Regions from separate parts of the Homo sapiens genome. Here all the other regions are linked to region 1. The links are contacts of gene promoters, found by promoter capture Hi-C in blood cells and fetal thymus (Javierre and others, 2016). All regions are on one chromosome and are shown on one strand. Each heading gives the region's core, a stretch centred on a gene start or on the middle of the fragment in contact. The rest is flanking DNA. Distances are from core to core; before and after follow the strand shown. Region 1 holds the start of RAMP3 (receptor activity modifying protein 3). Region 2 has its middle 15 kb from the start of MIR4657. Region 3 overlaps ADCY1 (adenylate cyclase 1).

What was found. The method cuts DNA at HindIII sites, captures the fragments that hold promoters and counts their contacts. A CHiCAGO score of 5 or more calls a contact.
Region 2: a fragment that was not itself captured here is called in contact with the fragment with the promoter of RAMP3 in region 1 in 1 of 17 cell types (non-activated CD4 T cells); the score reaches 5.0 in non-activated CD4 T cells.
Region 3: a fragment that was not itself captured here is called in contact with the fragment with the promoter of RAMP3 in region 1 in 1 of 17 cell types (M2 macrophages); the score reaches 5.5 in M2 macrophages.

Annotation. Positions count from the first base shown.
Region 1 is chr7:45,156,099-45,159,041 of GRCh38, reverse strand. It overlaps RAMP3 (receptor activity modifying protein 3), which reads right to left and starts at 1,251. Exons shown (of 3, transcript NM_005856.3): 1 at 1,156-1,251. The coding sequence starts at 1,213. The HindIII fragment of the contact is 23,160 bases long and covers 522-2,943 here.
Region 2 is chr7:44,865,126-44,868,367 of GRCh38, reverse strand. No RefSeq gene overlaps it. Among named protein-coding and RNA genes, the nearest start is that of MIR4657, 15 kb to the left of the region's middle. The HindIII fragment of the contact is 1,784 bases long and covers 627-2,410 here.
Region 3 is chr7:45,643,148-45,645,990 of GRCh38, reverse strand. The region is part of intron 4 of ADCY1 (adenylate cyclase 1); the gene reads right to left. Among named protein-coding and RNA genes, the nearest start is that of ADCY1, 70 kb to the right of the region's middle. RefSeq lists an enhancer at 1-289. The HindIII fragment of the contact is 269 bases long and covers 1,174-1,442 here.

The DNA.
Region 1 (2,943 bases), core at 2-2,501:
TCTCCCAGAATGAATTGAGAGGACCTTCCTTCCACTATAGCGACCAAGATCTCCACCTAAGGGGCGCTCACTGGAAGTTTGCTGAAATCCCAAATCAGCATGCTCCTGATTTCAGAAGCTGCCATCCACCTTTGCACTTCAACACAAAATCCACCACATCCTAGGCTCCAGCCCTGGAACACCAAATGAAGCCACACAAGTTCTGCACACCAAGACCTCTTCAATGGAAGGAAAATGACCACTGAGTTTGGTCCACCCTTTTCCCACCTCCCGTACCAAATCCCAAATCATCAAAACAGGCCCAACTCTGCATCTTACAGCCAGGGAAACTGGGGACCACCAGGCCAGGGCCCTCCATCACCAATGTCCCCCCCAGAACTGGCCAGGCTCAGTCACCACTCAGTGGACCCCAGCCCTCAGCAAGCACTCTTCCCCAACAGCCTTTACACACATTCTCTCTCTCTCTCTCTCTCTTACTTTTTCTTGGATAATTTCTTTAGCAAGGTACTTCAAAACAAGCTTTTAGTTTAATCTATTTCCATTTTGTGAGCAATGGTTCTTCCTAGAGTCCTGATTTCTTGCCGAAGAAGGCATTAGGAGAGGATGGCTCAGAGAGTCGCCCCGCTTCCCCTCTCAGCCAGTTCCAGGACACACACAGGCGTCCACACACTGAGGGGCCCTGGGAGGACCAGCTACCCAGTCCGGAGTCCACCCGCCCACGCCCCTGTGAGTGGTGGGCAGGCACTCAATGCCAGGACAGAGAGCTCACTACCTTACAGACAGCCCACCCTGGGGGATAAGGGGTAAAGAGCCAGACCTGGTCCACCTCTTCTCGCCCACCCTGAGGCGACCCCAGAACCGGGGCGTGGGGGGACATCACAACTAGAAGGACCGGGGGCTGCCGGACCCTGCCGTCAGAAGACCCCGGAGGGGGCCCTGTGCCTCCCTTGCCCGCCAGAGTCCTTCGCCTTCAGCTTCTCCCGGGTGGAACCCTCCCGCAGAGCCTGGGAATCCCGCCAGGGTCACTGTGCGCCCCTCCCGAGCTCCGGGGCAAGGGAAGGACCGCGGCGCAGGTGCGGGAAGGCGCGGGTCCACCCGGGTCCGGTGAACCCCGAGGAGTGGGGGCGCCCCCGGTGCGGGCCGTCGCCCCCTTACCGCAGAGCAGCAGCAGCAACGGGAGAAGTTGCGGGCGCCGCAGCGCTCCAGTCTCCATGGCTGGCCGGCCGCAGCTGGGTCACGCTCGGTCCCGCTGGGGGCGCGGCTGGGGGACGCCCGGTTGGGGTTGGGGTGGGGCGGGGCCTCAGGGGGTCCGCCCTCAGGCCGCACCCCCAGACCACGCCTGCGGCCGTGCCCCGTTGCCTCCAGATGTGGGGTGCAGTCCCTGCAGGCGCGCCGGGTGGGAGGGATGGGGGCGGCTGGAGTCTCAGCGGGGTGAGAGGGGGGCGAGGGCAGGGTTTCGAGCTGGGGACAAGCTGGGGTAAGGTGGGGTGCCGGCTGATGGGCTCTGAGGGCGGGGCTGGGGTGCTGAGCTGCAAAGGAGCTTTTTGGGAGCAGATTGTAGGGGCAGACTGGGAGGTGAGCTGGGGTGAGCGTGGGGGCCGGCTGACGGTGGGCTGGGATGCAGGCTGGAGAGACTTGGGGAACTTCCGTCCAGGCTCAGGGGCAGAGGGTGGGGGTAGACCGGGGAGGGAGCTGAGGTGAGGATGAAGCGCTGGCTGATGATGGCCTAGAGGAGTCTGGGGGTAGACTGGAGGAAGGTGGACCTGGGAGTGGGCTAGGTGTGCCCTGGCCGAAAGTAGACCAGAGTCCAGAGCTGCCCCCAGGCAGGGAGGGGAACTTTGAGCAGAGATACATCTAGGAGCCAGGTCTCCAAAGGTCAGGAAAGTGCATAAAAGAGGTTGGGGGGTGTGTGTGTGTGCGTCTGTGTGTGTGCGTGTGTGTGTTGTTCATGGAGTACGTGTGTGTGATGTGCATGTGGGGTGTGTGTAGATGCATGTGTGTGCATGGAGTGTGTGATGTATGGTGTGTGTGTGGCATGTGTGTGTTTGAGTCTGAGACAAGGTGTGTTTGTGAGTGTATGCTTGGGAAACAGTGTGTATGAGAGAGACTGGAGGGTGTGGCAACTACACACACAGAGACGTATCACACACCAAGAACCAAGCCACAAGCAAACCAAGGGACAGGAGAGTATCTGGCACCACCAAAGACCTGGCCTTGAAGAGTGTCAGGGTCCCTGAGGCGAAGGAGGGCCTCAGTTTCTCCAGCCACAGGTCACTTGGCCAGATGGGTCACCTCTGTCACCCTCAGCCCCTAGCACAGGCCCTGGCTCCAGTGGACACTTAATGGTGTCTTAAGAATTGTCACTGGTCAGGACTTCCGAGAGCCAGCTAGAGGCACCTCTCTGCCCTCCAGGGCCCACCCACCACCCCTGGGGGCACATGCTGGTCTGAGGTTGGGGCACAGGCCCAGGCTCCTACATGGATGGGCCCTCCACTCCTCTGAGCCGTAGGTACTGCTACCTTCCCAGGAGCTGAGCTGAACTTCTCCTGGCTTAGAAAGACCCACTTTATTTAACAAGACCCTTATTCGGGAGAAGAACTTTCTGTGCTTTTTTACTGAAGAAATTCTGATTACAGCCAGAATTAATTCAAAGGAGTCAAAACTAATTAAAATTGATCATTTGTCCTGCCTTCTGCCTGAGGGGTGGGCAGCAGGTGTAGGGGTGGCCACAGAGCCTCTAGTGAGACTGATGGTGCCCACAGCCAGGCCTTCTGCCCACAGGCCAGGGGTCATAAAACAAGCTGACCAGGGCAGCAGGGGGCTGGCTTACACACACGCACACCCTACACCAGCCAAGACAAACCAAGAGGATGGTCCAGGCCCAGGTGTCCACCCACATCCCACACAGACTCGGCCCTACAGCTCTCTCCAGGAGAGTCTTAG
Region 2 (3,242 bases), core at 269-2,768, 290 kb after region 1:
CTGGACAACAGAGCGAGACTCTGTCTCAAAAAAAAAAAAAAAATCACCTAATAGGTGCATATTTCCCTTTGAGTTAAACAACTTACATTTAAAATGAACAAGTTGGCCAGGCGCGGTGGCTCATGCCTGTAATCCCAGCACTTTGGGAGGCTAAGGCAGGTGGATCATTTGAGGTCAGAAGTTCGAGACCAGCCTGGCCAACATGGTGAAACCCCATCTCTACTAAAAATACAAAAATTAGCCAGGTGTGGCGGAACGCACCTGTAATCCCAGCTACTCGGGAGGCTGAAGCGGGAGAATTGCTTGAACCTTGGAGGTGGAGGCTGCAGTGAGCCGAGATTCGCACTGCTGCACTCCAGCCTGGGCGAGGTGACAGAGCTAGACTCCGTCTCAAAAAAAATAAATAAATAAAATGAACAAGTCACTAAATGAAGTGATTCTCTGCTGATAATTCACTGGATGAAGGAGTACTGGGATCCAATTGGCCTTATGAGATGATGGCTAAGTTTAAGAATAAGAAAATGTATTGTCTTTACTGGCTTGTTGTATGACCTTAAGTGAGTTGTTTCTCTGCATAAAAAAATCCCTGCCCTTATTTACATCTAGCTGCTTCTGGCCTTGAAGCTTTGGCTTGGAATTCTGAAAGAGTTTTTTTTTTTTTAATTGGGTCCTCTATCATGCATAGTTCAGAACATAAAGGCAGGTTCCTCACCTTCTAGTATAAATAACATAAAAAGAGAAAGCATGCTAGGTGTTCTGGCAGAATGGCAGAAAACAAACTTCTGAAGGAAGAAGAGCTGTTGTCAGCGATGTGGAATGTTCTAGTCCAGCAGCTGCTGATTTTCTGGCAGTGAAAACCCAGCTGGTGACATCACTTAGGCAAGTGACTCATCAGAGCAGTGCTCTCATTTATCTGCTCCTCATCTGACACCACATCTTTTCTGGTGGGGACTGCAAACTCTATTTTGATTACACCTGCTGAACTCTCCCAAACCTTTGTCAGCTATAGGTTTTCTCTTTTGTGGGCAAGACTTAGGATAGAAACAAGCGTGGGAATTATCAGGGTTTGTTGCAGTGTTTTATATTGTACCTACCATTTTGCCTTCAAAGGTCACACTTTAAGGGAGCCAGGGCCAGGCAGGTGGCTCCTGATCCCAGCACTCTGGGATGCTGAAGTGGGTGGATCGTTTGAGTTCAGGAGTTCAAGACTAGCCTGGGCAACATGGTGAGACCTCACCTCTATTAAAAAATATAAAAAATTAGCCAGGCATGGTGCCATGTGCCTGTAGTCCCAGCTACTTGGAAGGCTGAGGTGGGAGGATCACCCAACCCTGGGAGATCAAGCCTGCAGTGAGCCATGATGATACCACTGCACTCCAGCCTCGTCAACAGAATGAGACCCTGTCTCAAAAGAAGGGGGGCTTGGGAGTGGAGCCAGCTCTCTCAATTTCCCTGCAAGCTGCTCCCATCCACCCTCTGAGGCTACGCCTGACATCATTGCTGGGGTGTGTTCTAGAGCACCTTCTCTCCATGACTGTGTGGGTTTTCTCTGGGTACTCTGGTCTCCTCCCACATCCCAACGATGTGCAGGTTAGGTTCATTGGCATGTCTAAAGTGTCCCAGTCTGAGTTCATGTGCCGTGTGTAGAATAGCATTCAGTCCAGGATTGGCTCCCACCTTGTACCCTCAACTGCCAGGATAGGCTCCAGCCACCCACAACCCTGAACTGGAATAAATGGGTTAGAAAATCAATGTATGGATAAATGAATACAAATTATTATAAAATAAAAATTGGTAAAGAATATGATAATTATACAAATGCATGACAATAGGCAATGAACAATGAGGAATGAAATTGCTCAGTGAGCCTGCCAAATGTGTGATTGTTTTTTAACTGTGTGGTAGCAGAGGCCATTCCTTACAAATTTTGCTTTATAAACATTTATTCCTTAATTTAACCCACCCCACTGTGACAGTCATCACTCATTCATTCACCAAAAATGAGGCAAATAATTATCCTACTTGTTTTTATTAATCTTTTTTTTTTTTTTTTTTTTGAGATGGAGTCTCACTCTGTCATCCAGGCTGGAGTGCAGTGGCATAATCTCAGCTCACTGCAACCTCCACCTCCCAGATTCAAGCAATTCTCTTGCCTCAGCTTCCTGCATAGCTGGGACTACAGGTGTGCGCCACCATGCCCAGCTAATTTTTTTTGTATGTTTAGTACAGACTGGGTTTCACCATGTTGGTCAGGCTGGTTTTGAACTCCTGACCTCAGGTGATCTGCCCACCTTGGCCTCCCAAAGTGCTAGGATTACAGGCGTGAGCCACCGTGTCCAGCCTGTTTTTATTAATCTTTCTTAAATGTATGTATAGCTCAAATTTATTTCAATGTTTAATATTAGAAGCTTTTTGGGTCTTTATTTAGAAGTTTGGTAATGTTTTTGTGACCAGAAATATGCTGTAGGAACTTAACTCTTGTTTATATCAATTACCCTGTCAACCTGAAAAAAAAAGACACTAGAAAAAAATTAACTCTAAATATGTTGGGTGTTGGGTTTACTCTGGAATAGAAATAAGGATTATAATCTAGAGTGCAGCTGGGCGCAGTGGCTCACATCTGTAATCCCACCACTTTGAAAGGCTGAGGTGGGCAGATCACCTGAGGTCAGGAGTTCGAGATCAGCCTGGCCAACATAGCGAAACCCCGTCTCTACTAAAAATACAAAAAAAAATTAGCCAGGCATGGTGGCATGCGCCTGTAATCCCAGCTACTTGGGAGGCTGAGGTAGGAGAATCGCTTGAATCTGGGAGGCAGAGATTGCAGTCAGCCAAGATCGCGCCACTGCAGTCCAGCCTGGGCGACAGAGTGAGACTCTGTCTCAAAAAAAAAAAAAAAAAAGAAAAGAAAGAAATCTAGAGTGCATGAAATGGCAAGCTACAAGTGCATTTAGTGAGGGAAGGGTGAGGGGAGCTTTTATTAGCAAAAAGAGATTACATAAGCTGCTTGGAAACAGAGTTCATCACTTCCAGAGGTTCAAAGCCAGAGTTGTCAGTTCCTTGGTGGAGATGCAAGTGTTCTTTCAAGAACATCTTAACCGAATTACTGAAATCCTAAAGAATGTCTAGTGATAAACCTTATCAAAGCAGGAGATTTGTGAAGGATATGAAAGGATTTTTAGAAAGTCCTTGGAAACAGTTCTTATTTCAGATATGCAAGCATGAGCCTCCTCTCCTTCAGA
Region 3 (2,843 bases), core at 59-2,558, 490 kb before region 1:
CTCCCTGAGATTAGAAACCCCGTGAGCACTCACAACCTGTGATGATAGCCCTGACACATCAGGATTTCTTCTCAGAGGCCCAAATGAGGGCTCAAGACCCCTCTGGGAGCCCACAAGAGCCACAATGCCCACTGGCTGCTGGAACTCTTCTTGCACATGGTTTTGGGAGGGTCACCAATCCCCAACTCTAAGGACCTGTGCTCTGGACGTCAAGGACTTTGAGGGTGATGTGGGTCCCTGATCATCCCTGCATCTCATGTGCGTGAGTGGACTCAGGGATTGTGGGCAACTGCTAGTGTCCCTGCCCCCACCTCAGCTCTGAGCTGTGTTCCCAGCATCCTTCCAGGGTCCCGTGGTTACCAGGGCCTCCTGGTCATCTCTGTGAGTCCAGAACAAGCCTATCCCTGGAGTGGGACAGGTGTGCAGGACAAGGCTGCTGAAGGGATGAGTGTGCATGAGTGAACAGGCCAGTCAGATCTGATGGTAGCAGGGCCTCCAGGGTAAAAGGCAAAGGTGGGGCCTGTCAGTACAGCTGCTCCAAACAGCCCACCCTGTCAACCCAACTATCCTATTTGACACCAAGACTTGGCATGGCCACCGCAGAAAAGGACATTGCTGTGGGGCTGGCTGGGGTGGAATCTTCAATTACCATCCCTACAGGAGTCCTATGTAAAAGGAGGCATAAATAGCACACGGGAATGAAGGCTAAAGAGATGCCCACGGAGCCTCAAGTGTGACCGTCACTGCATGGTGTGGGCGAGCTGTGAGTGGGGAGAACCTATCTCTGCATGAGGACCAAGGGCAAAGCCATCTAGCACAGGCTATCCACATGCACATGGTCATGTGGCAAGGCCTTACAAGCAGATGAGGGCTTGTGTATTCTAAAGAAATTGTCCAGAACACTTGTCTTTAGAACAGCAATCCTCTCCTAGAACCTGGGCAACTCATACCATACACACATGTGTGCACATATCCAGCTCACTCAGCATCACACATGAGTCTCTGGAAACTGTTCTGAGATGCAAAGCTGAGAACCCTCCTGGGCCCTCATGGCATCCCTTTCCCACCCACCTCCACCACGCTGGCACTAGTGGAGACAGCTTAGGACAAATGTTGAATATATTGCTTTATTTTGTCTTTAATCTCAGAGGCCCTGGCTTTTGTTAGCAAGCTTAAGAGATCAAAAAAGGTATTTCTAATTGGTTTTAGTGTTTCTGATTTTAGACTCTTTTGTATAAATATGGAAAGTCAGCACCTAGAGTCCACTGCAATAAAGCACCACAGGAAGTGTTGTGTCTCCTCCAAAAGAAGAAAGAAGAAGATGAGATGGAGGGTTGGCAGGGGCTCAGAGGCATGTTCAGCCCTAAGGGACAAGAGCTGCCCCCTCCCTCCCAGGCTTGAAAGGGACAGGACTACAGGCAGGTGACATGACAACAGAAGCTTCTCAGTATAACAGAGCCACTGCAGGAGAATCCAGATAGGAAAGTCTCCTGATTTGCTCCAGGTATGGCCTAAAGAGCTGCGGCCAGCTTGCAGACAGTCTGGGCCCATCATGGCCTTGACTGAGCAGGCAGCCACAGAGAAGGGTCTAGAACAAAAAGGGCTCACATAGGCCAGTGCACTCTGACCCTGCCCAGCCCCAGGACCCGTCCCAGAAGGGCACAGAGGTAACGTCTAGAAGAAAGCAGAGAGTCAGTGGCTCAGGAAGATCCACTGCCAATTCCAGAGCTCTGACATGCCCAGGCCGCTCTAGGGCCAGCTCTAAAACAGTAGAGTCCAGAGAGGTCATGGACTCGCACACTGCATCCCAATTCTAAGAAAACAGATACCTGGGAGAAGGAGAGGATGAAAAGCCTGAATCAATCCAGTTTTTGCCCGAAAGTGACTGCATCCAAAACCCAAACTGGCCAAGTCCAATTAACTTTGTAAGACTGGAGTGTTTGGCTATCAGTGGAAGAACGAAATAAGAAATTTTAGAAAACCCTAGAGGAAGCTTCCTGCTACAGAGATAGCGCAGAAGAGCTGAAACACAAGAACTCTGCAGACACCTGTTCATCAACAGGATCAAATCAGGTCCCCGGAAGCCTCCCTGCCTCAGGGGAGGACTGAGGAATCAGCGTGCCCTGTTGGGAAGCACTCTCCAGGAACAGTTTCACAGTGCATGCACTACCAGCATCAAAAAGAAACCAAAAGGAACCATGGAGGGGCAAGGGGAAACCCAGCACAAACATCTAACTACACGCACGGGAGGAACAGTGAGCAAGGGAGGGGTCTCTCCATGTACCTCGACTTCGGTTTTTTACTGTGGAACTGAACCATGCAATTATTTTATGTGCCTAAAAAGAAAAATTAAAAACAGTTATACCTAAAAGATCAAAACCAAAATGAAATAAACCTGTTACCAGCATGACCACAGAGAGAAGAATTATTTCGAGCGATGAGAAAATGCATATTTGACTGTATGTCTGGTAGAATATAATGCAAGGACAAAAATAACCACAAAGAAATCTCCAATTGCATTCAGCAGACTTATTGTTGAAAATAATATTGGCAATGTTATTTTGAGCCTACTATATATGGAAAGATGAAATAAATAATATTACTGTCATTAGAATTTTCAGCATCACCAAAAAGATACAAATATAAAAATCCAAGGAGTGAAGTGAATTGGAAATATCAATATAAACTCATAATTTATTTTTATTTTCCTAAAAAAAAAATCCTATCTCAATGCCCTAAAAAGCCTCGGACCAATTACAACCCAGATTATGGTGTTGAAAAACCATTTCCCACTGAAAGAAACCAGGCCTTCTAGAAAAATGATTAGTCTGAAGATGCTGCTC